Regions from separate parts of the Homo sapiens genome. Here region 2 is linked to region 1. Evidence: promoter capture Hi-C in human tissues and cell types (Jung and others, 2019). All regions are on one chromosome and are shown on one strand. The core of a region is centred on a gene start or on the middle of the fragment in contact, and the rest is flanking DNA. Distances in the headings are between cores, read along the strand shown. Region 1 holds the start of PRDX3 (peroxiredoxin 3). Region 2 has its middle 21 kb from the start of TIAL1.

The links. Contacts are between HindIII fragments. The study calls those that stand out against the background at their distance.
Region 2: a contact is called between a fragment that was not itself captured here and the fragment with the promoter of PRDX3 in region 1, in 1 of the 25 tissues and cell types used here (spleen).

Annotation. Positions count from the first base shown.
Region 1 is chr10:119,175,906-119,181,008 of GRCh38, forward strand. PRDX3 (peroxiredoxin 3) reads right to left here and starts at 2,907. Exons shown (of 7, transcript NM_006793.5): 1 at 2,850-2,907; 2 at 1,116-1,248. The coding sequence starts at 2,885. RefSeq lists enhancers at 1,786-2,430, 2,430-2,909 and a silencer at 2,940-3,049. The HindIII fragment of the contact is 15,713 bases long and covers 1-5,103 here.
Region 2 is chr10:119,615,005-119,620,107 of GRCh38, forward strand. No RefSeq gene overlaps it. Among named protein-coding and RNA genes, the nearest start is that of TIAL1, 21 kb to the left of the region's middle. RefSeq lists an enhancer at 1,893-2,187. The HindIII fragment of the contact is 4,396 bases long and covers 859-5,103 here.

The DNA of each region.
Region 1 (5,103 bases), core at 1,657-4,156:
GTAGCTGGGATTCCAGTAGCACACCACCACACCCGGCTTATTTTTTTTAAGTATTTTTAGTAGAGACGGGATTTCACCAGGTTGGCCAGGATGGTCTTGAACTCCTGACCTCAAGTAATTCGCCTGCCTTGGCCTCTCAAAGTGCTGGGATTACAGGTGTGAGCCACTGTGCCCAGCCTCGATTTCAGTGATCTTAGACGTATTGAGGGGAGGTATGGGGCAGAAAGAACAGAAAGGAATGGATGCAAGAGATGTGTCAAAACTGAAAAGGACTTGCTTCTACCCAGGAATGAGCGACAGAGTAGTTCCAATGTCAAAATGCCTGACACCGCCATGAACAGAAACAGGAGGCGCTGCTGGGGATGAGGATTCGAAACCAGTGGAGTAAAGTTTTAAGCCTGTGGTATCACATCACTACTAGAAATATTTTGAAGCTCCAGGGTAGTAAAATTGCGAAAGCTCTTAGAACATTTTGCCCACAAACAAAGGCTTTACTAAAGTATATCCCCACAAACCATTACATATTAAATACGGGCTTTTTCAAAGGCTAGTCAAATCTAGACAAGGTATTTTCAAATACCACTCATTATCTGAGGCTGATCTTAGCAAAGCCCATATCCTAGAGAAGGGAGTGTAAATCTCAAGAAACAGCTAAATTTCGCTCAGATTACAGATACCATTAGACAGGTCTGGTTCCTAAGTGGCCAGCTGGGGCCATTACACAGGTTTGAATCTTAGAGCAGCTGCCCTCTCAGGTCCCCCACAGGCTGCCCACCACTCACAGCTCTTCAGACACACTAGACTCAGAAGGCATCTGAGCTCCCAGTAACACCCTCCTCAACACAGTGGATTAGAAACTCTGACAACCAACATGGAAATGTGACAAGGGCAGTTTGCCTCAGTGATTCTCAACCCTGGCTGCACGTTAGAATCACCCGGCACATCCTGGTCTCACCCCACAGACTAACTTGTCTGGGGTGGGACGGGGGCAGTGCTGTGTTCCTGAAAGCTCCCAGGTGACTCTAACGTTTGGCCAGGGTTCAGAGCCCCTGTCCAGAGACGATGGTTCATTTTTCCTTTACCTGGCTCCAGCCAAGACATGACATAACACTTACTGGTGCTGAATAATTTTGCTTGACTGGAACCAGAACACAATAAATTTGTCAAGCTCGTTCTTCCACATGCAGCAGGCCTGAGGGCTGCAGTGGCAGAAATGCCCCAAGGAATGGCACTCACATGTCGGGCAACCTGGAAAGAGAAACTTTTTATTAGAAAGTTTTCCTGGACTGGTGACTGAAGGCTGAAAGGGCATCGTGCCAACGGTGGTTTCAGCTGTCCCTGTTCCTGTGAACCAAATAGCAAACCCCAAACTCTAAGAGCATGGATTGGATCTGCATGTTCTTAACACTCCCTTCTGCTTCCTTCTCCTAGGAGACTGGAAGGTGGAGAGGAACTATAAGAACACAAAGACCGGCTGGGCGCGGTTGCTCACACCTGTAATCCCAGCACTTTGGGAGGCCAAGACGGGTTGATCACCAGGTCAGGAGTTCGAGACCAGCCTGGCCAAGATGGTGAAACTCCATCTCTACTAAAAACACAAAACTTAGCCAGGCGGCGGTGGCGGGCACCTGTAATTCCAGCTGCTTGGGAGGCTGAGGCAGGAGAATTGCTTGAACCCGGGAGGCAGAGGTTGCAGAGCCGAGATCGCGCCATTGCACTCTAACCTGGGCGACAACTCCGTCTCAAAAAAAAAAAAAAAAAAAATCAGAAACTCCATGCGCTTAAAGCAACACAGGGTTCAGAAGCCAGGGGACTTGTGCAGGCTTTTCCCAGCACTATCTGCTGAGTATGTTCTACCATTTCAAGGTTTTCCTTAGAAAAACAAGGCCCCTCCAGCACCAGCGACAAGTAAACAAGAAGAGCCAAATTCAGCCTCTGGGAGTCTGTTAAAGGCTCAAGGGACATGTTTACTCAACTTTTTTTTTTTTTTTTTGAAACAGAGTCTCGCTCTTTTACCCAGGCTAGAGTGCAGTGGCGCGATCTCGGCTCGCTGCAGTCTCGACCTCCTGGGCTCAAGTGATCCTCCCACCTTAGCCTCCCCAGGAGCACTGACCACCATGCCCGGCTATTTTTTTTTTTAGAGACAAGGTCTCACTATTATTGTCCAGGCTGGTCTCAAACTCCTGGGCTCAAGTGATCTGCCCGCCTCGGCCTCCCAAAGTGCTAGGATTACAGGCGTGAGCCACCGCACTCTGCCGGTTTGCTCAACTTTAATGTTCAAAATGACTCAGGAGAACGAAAGGGGCTGTGTTGAACCCCACCAGAGAAAGCCGTGTACCAAAAGAGCACGACGCATTGCCCACAGTTAAGCAGGAAACAGCAGCAGAAACACGCGGGAGTGGGATTGGGAGGGAAAGCCTTTGTGAGTTTTTTAGCACTTTGCGCGTTTTTATCCAGTATTTAAGGGGCTGTTCACAGCAACGCCTTGATGTAGGCATCATTCTTTCCATCTTAAGTACACAGTCTGAGAAAGGCGAAGGCGCTTGCCCAAGATCACAGGGTCGGTGGCAGAATCAGGGCCAGGACCTTAAGTGGAGATGGGCCTGGGGACCGGGGACGCCGAAAGAGGAGGGACTCGGGGAAGAGACCGCGAGGATGGAGTGGGGAAGGGCGGTTCTGCGCAGGCGCATGGAACCTTCCCGGAGGGAGGCCTCTGGGTCCGTTACCCGCGGAAACCCTCCAAGAAGGGCGAATGGCCCTCATGCCCAGAAGCGCGGGGTCCTGTCTGAGAAGCACGTTCCCGGAGCCACCAGTGTCTCCACGCCTGTCCCCAGCCGACAGCCACTCACCGACGCTCGGAGCAACCGTCCTACAGCAGCCGCCATCTTCAGTGCACTCGGGCGCCACGGGGCGGGCAGAGACGCAGGGGCGGGGCCTACGGGGTGGTGAGCGGGCCCTCTGCTGGTGGGGGGGCGGGGCCGGAGGAGCCACCGCCTCCCCGCCTCCTGGAGACCCTGAGGGAGAAATTCCCTTTAAGGCTGAATGCTTGGGCAAGTGACACGTGGTTTTCCTACTGTCGCCCCAACCTTAAAAGAACGAATCCAGGCGGGGCATTAGGTATTTGTTTCCATATTTCCCACTGTTTTGTTAACCTTGTGTGGATTACTGTGTCTAGTATTTCTGTGACAGGATCCCTTTCTTATTTCAGCCTCAGGTAGAGACTTCCGGCTTCTGTATGAAATGGAATTAATTACAAATGCAGTTTTAGTCCGTTAATAAGCTAAGTGGGCTAGACACATCAAGGCTTTGTTGGCCTGAAATCCGCTGGAATTGTGTGTGGTCTAACATTTGGCCTCTCTTCCCAAAATTGGGAAAACTGGGACAAATTTAAAATTTGGTTTTTGTCTATTAATGAAGCCAAGTGTTCAGTGGTGAGCATAGTACTTGAAGCAACCACATCAAACATAGATAAAAATCACACCGTGGCCTTACAGTAAGTGTGACAAATTGCAGTCTTGGAGCTGGTATTTTCTTTTCTCTTTTCTTTTCTTTTCTTTTTTTTTTTTTTTGAGACTGGGTCTTGCTCTGTCGCCCAGGCTGGAGTGCAGTGGCATGATCTTGGCTCACTGCAACCTCTGCCTCCCGGGTTCAAGCGATTCTCCTGCCTGAGCTTCATGAGTAATTGGGATTCCTGAGCAGCTGGGATTACAGCCGCCTGCCACCATGCCCAGTTAAGTTTTTGTATTTTAAGTAGAGATGGGGTTTCACCATGTTGGCCAGGCTGGTCTCAAACTCCTGACCTCAAGTGATCCGCCCACCTCGGCCTCCCAAAGTGCTGGGATGATAGGCATGAGCCACTGCACCCGGTCTGAGTTGGTATTTTCCAATCACTAGTCATTCAATTAGCAACTTCGTTTCTCAAGTCTTCTTATCACCAAATATCACTTACTATTTTCTTTAAATTGGCTTTCTTTTTTTTTTTTCCTTTTCTTTTTTGAGACAGAGTCTCACTCTGTCGTCCAGGCTAGAGTGCAGTGGCACAATCTCGGCTCACTGCAACCTCTACCTCCTTGGTTCGAGCGATTCTTCTGGCTCAGCCTCTCGAGTAGCTGGGATTACAGGCGTGCACCACTAAACCCGGCTAATTTTTTTAGTATTTTTAGTAGAGATGGGGTTTCACCATATTGGCTAGGCTGGTCTTGAACTCCTGACATCAGGTGATCCTCCCACCTTGGCCTCCCAAAGTGCTGGGATTACAGGCGTGAGCCACCACACCCAGCCCAGTATATTTTCTAAAATCATCTCAGGTACCACTAGGCGCCACCCTGGGTACCAGTCCCCAGATGTGGAAAGGACTGCCTTGGATGTGTGGGGACACACGTTTCGACTATTTCACCTCACACCTTCCTTGTGTTTGTTTAATTGGTTTTAATTATGTCTGTGTTTAGCAGATGATTGAAAAGGAGACAATCATTTTGGAGCTCAAAATCGTACTGTAGGCCGGGCGCAGTGGCTCACATCTGTAATCCCAGCACTTTGGGAAGCTGAGGTGAGTGGATCACCTGAGGTAAGGAGTTCAAGACCAGCCTGACCAACATGGTGAAACCCTTTCTCTACTAAAAATTGCAAAATTAGCTGGGCATGGTGGTGCATACCTGTAATCTCAGCCACTTGGGAGGCTGAGGCAGGAGAATCACTTTAACCTGGGAGGCAGAGGTTGCAGTGAGCCGAAATTGAACCAGTGCACTCCAGCCTCAGCAACAAGATTGAAACTCCGTCTCAAAAAAAAAAAAAAAAATACTGTAGTTCACAATGGAATATTATTTATCCATAAAAGGAATGAAATACTGATATATGCTACAACACAGATGAACTTTGAAAACACTAGCTAAGTGAAAGAAGCCAGACACAAAAGAACAAATAGTGTGTGTTTCCTTTTATATGAAACATCTAAAATAGGTAATTCCAAAGGGACAGAAAGCAAATCAGCAATTGTTAGGGACTGGGAGAAGCTGGCATGGGGACTGACTATTTATTTTTTATTTTATTTATTTATTTTTGAGACAGAGTCTCCCTCTGTTGCCCAGGATGGAGTACAGTGAT
Region 2 (5,103 bases), core at 1,807-4,306, 440 kb after region 1:
TAAAATCACTGGTCGCTTTATATTGTAGTAAAGAACTTGAACAAACAACTATTACACCTCCTTTAATGTTCCATTCTGTTTCAAGTGAATCTGGAATAAGTATAGTAACTTATACTGCTTTTAACCTGCCCCATTAGACTTGTCCACTTTGGCCCACGGTGCTTTTGATTTGAGGTTCCAGTCTGTCTCTCAGCAGCACTGTTTGTACATAACGTGGGTCCAGTTTGTAACATTTGTAAATTTTGAAAATGTGTTTGAGTTATTCAAATGGTTGTTTGCCTATATTTTCAAATATAAAACCTCTGAGCAAATATGTAATTATTTATTTTATTTTATTATTTTATTTTATTTTATTTTTGAGATGGAGTCTCGCTGTATTGCCCAGGCTGGAGTGCAGTAGCGTGATCTCAGCTCACTGCAGCCTCCGCCTCCCGGGTTCCAGCAATTCTCCTGCCTCAGCCTCCCGAGTAGCTGCGATTACAAGTGTCCGCCACCAAGCCCAGCTAATTTTTGTATTTTTAGTAGAGACGGGGTTTCACCATGTTGGCCAGGATGGTCTCGATCTCTTGACCTCGTGATTCGCCTGCCTCAGCCTCCCAAAGTGCTGGGATTACAGGGGTGAGCCACTGTGCCCGGCCGGTAATTATGTATTTTAAATGTTCCCATTTGGTCATATAAATTACGGTACATCCATTCAACAAAATACTGCCCAGTCATTTTAAGAGTGTGGGGGAATTAATAGGCATTAACATGCTCAAGATTATTGTTAAGTGAAAACAGCAAGTTGCAGAGCATTAAGTATAACATCTCTCTGTGTATAAGTGTGTGTAAATGTGTTTTCTTATAAACAAGGCTTATTTTTGGAAAAAGACTCTAAGTCATCTCTGGATGTACAATGGCTATCATGGTAATCGCTAACATATATCACATGCTTGTTCTCTGCCAGGCATTGCACCAAGTGCCTTTCCTATCCTTCATTTAATCTACATAATAACCCTAAGAGGAAGGTATTACTATTATCTTCCATTTATAGATTAGGAAACTGAGGCCAGGAGAAGTCAAGTGCTCAACTTCAGCATTCTATACTATTCGTTGTGGGTTTTTCTTTTTTAAATGTATCTGCATTACTTTTAAAATAAAAATAATACTATTAAATATTTTAAAATCTTCCCCTCTTCTGGGATTTTGAAACTGAGAGTGGCAATAGAACTGTTCAGTGCCAAGTTCTGTTGTGGCAGTGAATGAAAACCCAGGTTGTGCTAGGTGCAGTGGGCCAGTGGCTCACGCCTGTAACCCCAGCACTTTGGGAGGCTGAAGCAGGAACTTTACTTGAGCTCAGGAGTTTGAGACAAGCCTGGGCAACATGGTGAGACTCTGTTTTTACAAAAAAATTAAAAATTAGTTGGGTGTGGTGGTACATACCTGTTGTCTTAGCTACTGAGGTGAATGAGATGGGAGGATCACTTGAGCCCGGGAGATGGAAGCTGTGGCAAGCTGTGATCATGCCGTGGCATTCTAGCCTGGGCAACAGAGCAAGATCCTGTCTTATAAAAAAAAAAAAAGAAGAAGAAGAAACTCAAGTTGTGTCACTTCTAGGCAGGCGCCCTTTTTCTCACAGTCTGGTGTGGAGAGGTGGTTGAGAAGCCTCTAGGCTCATAGGCAGAGCTCAGTAGAAGCAGGAGGAGGAAAGGTCAAGTTGGAGGCCCTCAGGTACTGCTGCCTCTGGTTTTCTGAGTGTAATTATGGATGGGCTGACCCCACTGCCTACCGTGGTGACACTAAGGGGAGTCTCCAAACTGAAGGGCAGCACTGCCCCCCAAGTAGCCAGAAAAATTCAAGGTCAGTTGTTAGCTGCAACCTTTTATCCAATAGCATCTGGAGGCATCTGGATAAGATCCATTAAAATACTCATTGTGATGCCAGACCTCATACGAACATTCATTTGACACCCACAACTACTCATAAGCCTGATTGTCCCCATTTGAACAGTGAGGTTTGTGAAATTAAGTGATGTAAGTCTCACAAACAACTGCAAGTTTAGGACTGACTTGACCTTAGGACTGTCTGGCGCTCCACTAATTCCCACGCGGGGGCGCTGGTGGAGGAGCTGATGGCAGCCAGATGTTGCAGTTTTTGTATGTTGCGCCCTCCCTTATTAAGTATCCTTCACCCAAACTGTGTGATATGGCTTGGCTGTGTCCCCATTCAAATCTCAACTTCAACTGTATCTCCTGGAATTCCCATGTGTTGTGGGAGAGACCTGGGGGAGGTAATTGAATCATGGGGGCTTGTCTTTTCCGTGCTGTTCTCATGATAGTGAATAAGTCTCACGAGATCTGATGGTTTGATCAGGGGTTTCCTCGTTTGCTTCTTCCTCATTTTCTCTTGCTGCTGCCATGTAAGAAGTGCCCTTTGCCCTCCGCCATGATTATGAGACCTACCCAGCCATGTGAAACCGTAAGTCAAATTAAACCTCTTTATCTTCCCAGTCTTGGGTATGTTTTTATCAGTAGCATAAAAACGGACTAATACACTGTGAAACATATAAAAAATGAACAACGTTGGGCGTGGTGGCTTGCATTTGTAATCCCAGCTACTCAGGAAGCTGAGGTGGGAGAATCGCTTGAGGGTGAGAGTTCAAGAGCAGCCTGGGCAAGAGAGCAAGACTTGTCTCTAAAAAATTTTTCTTAAATAAGAAATCAGCTGAGTGTGGTGGTGCATGTCTGTAGTCCCAGCTACTCAGGAGGCTGAGGCAGAAAGATCGTGTGAGCTGTGGAGTTCAAGGCTTCACTGAGCTGCGATCACACCACTGCACTCCAGCCTGGGTGACAGAGCAAGAACCTGTCTCTGAAAAAGAAAAAAGAACAAATAGAGGCATCTGCTTCATGGACCAGCCTTCAAAAGGAGCCTCTGTTGTGCTCCCAAGTCATTTTCACACTGGAAGAAGAGTCAGCAAGGTGGCACCTGTTATCAAATCAGCCCGCTGCTACCTCCCTAATGACCTCCAAAACTGCCCTGAAACTCAGAGACGTTCCAGGATTGATTGCTGTGTGTCCTGAAGTTTCCCTCTGGGCTCAGGTTCCTCAGCTTCCATGAACTGGCTGTTTGGACACCTACTGAACCCTAATTCTATTAGTAATACCGAGGCCCCACTGTAAACTAAAGATTAGAAATGTAAAGGCTTGGCCTCTGCAAACCTCGGGGAGACTCACTGGGCCTGAATCCCACACCCTAGAAGTCTGGTGTCTTGAACCCAAGATTTTGGGGCAGTTTCTGAAGGACTTTCTGATGCTAAAAATGATGGTGAAGGGCAAACGTACACCCAGTTACTCCCAGGGCACTCCCTTTCCTGTACTTGAATACTGGGCTGGCTAGACTCAGATACACATGCACGGACAAACATACACACACACACACACACACACACACACACACACACACTCCTGTTCCATATCTTTGGGTCTCTGCTTGCTCTTACCCTTGCTTCGAATATCCTTTCCACCTTACTTCACACAGCTGACTGTTGCTTAATTATGGAGATTCAGCTCGGGGATCACTTCCTCAATCCCAAGCTGGGCTAATGTTTTCACAGCACCAGGGTTGAGCACCATCTCAGCCTATTACATAAAATGGCCTGGTAATACATCTCCTCCACTGAACCAAAAGTCTCTGAGGATGGGGCCCACGTTCAGCTCCCTGTGGTTCTCAGAGTCTCACCGGATGTCTGCCGCGCTGCAGGTGCTCAGCACAGGTTTGTGGCTCTGTCCAGCGATTATATTCTCAGCCTACAGGCAGCCTCTTCCTTGTAGCATGGCCAGGTTCCCATCGTGCAGACTCATTACATCCGTGCCAGGGCTTGTAAGTTTGCCGCTTATCTGAGGTTCATCTGCAAGAAGCTGTAATTGAAACAGCTTCCAGGATGGAAATATCGTTTCCAGAATTTCATTTTCAAGCTTACAGCCTGGATCGTTCAAGCCGATTACAGGAAACGGTTGCAGTGCTGGTGCTCCCCGGGTTGAATCCAGATGGGTGTGTTTACTAGGCTGAGAAATGTTAATCCTGTCTTTGGCCTAGAAATGTCTGGCATTCACTTTGGAGGGAAATAGAAAAATAAGGTAGTACAGCCAGCCAGGCTCAGTTATATTTCCCTTAAATAATGCTTTTTTCAAAACAAGGTGGGGAGAGGGTCTGCTGGAGGGACCTTTGCCTGAAAGGAGATAGTGTGCAACTGTCATTGATTTTGAAAGTTCAGAAGAAACATTCTGAATAGTCAGTCTTTAGTATCATTACAAGGCTGGCCAAATAACCATGGGCCTGAATGCTGACAGGTGCATGCTTGGGGCTAAGGAACAGAGATCTGAATCTGTTCTCTTCTGAAGGCCATATGTAAGCGTGCATGAAGCCAAATGACAATGAGAGGAAGGGCCTGCACATTTACTGAGCCCTGGCTTCTTTGCCAAGCATTGTACTAAGCACTTCACATTTTTTATATCGTTTGATCCAATAACTCTTTGAGGTGGATACCACTACTACTAATCCCATTTACAGTTGAAGAAACCAAGATTCAAAGAGAGGCTTGCCCAAAGTAGCAGGGCTCCCATATGCTTTGCAAACACTTTTATAACTTTAAACGATTTTTTAACCCTACCACGTGCCGGCACTACAACCAGCCCAGCTGGCGGGTGGTCACTCCTGTCCTGTGTAGTGAAGACCCAAGATCCTCTGGCAAGTGCTCCCAGGCAGCAGGGCAGTGGGGCCCATTTGTCCCTAATAAACCTTTCTTCCATGCAGTGCTCAAACTCCTCAAGAAAGCAAAACACAACAGCTTCAGTAACTAAATAGGCGACCAGTAACCTGCCTGCCCAGAGCTCTCTGAGACTTTTTGTTTTTTTTTTTGTGAGATGGAGTCTCGCTCTGTTACCCAGGCTGCAGTGCAGTGGCGCAATCTTGGCTTACTGCAACCTCCACCTCCCGGGTTCAAGCAATTCTCCTGCCTCAGCCTCCAGAGTAGCTGGGATTACAGGTGCCCACCACCATGCCCGGCTAATTTTTGTATTTTAGTAGAGATGAGGTTTCACCATGTTGGCCAGGCTGGTCTTGAAC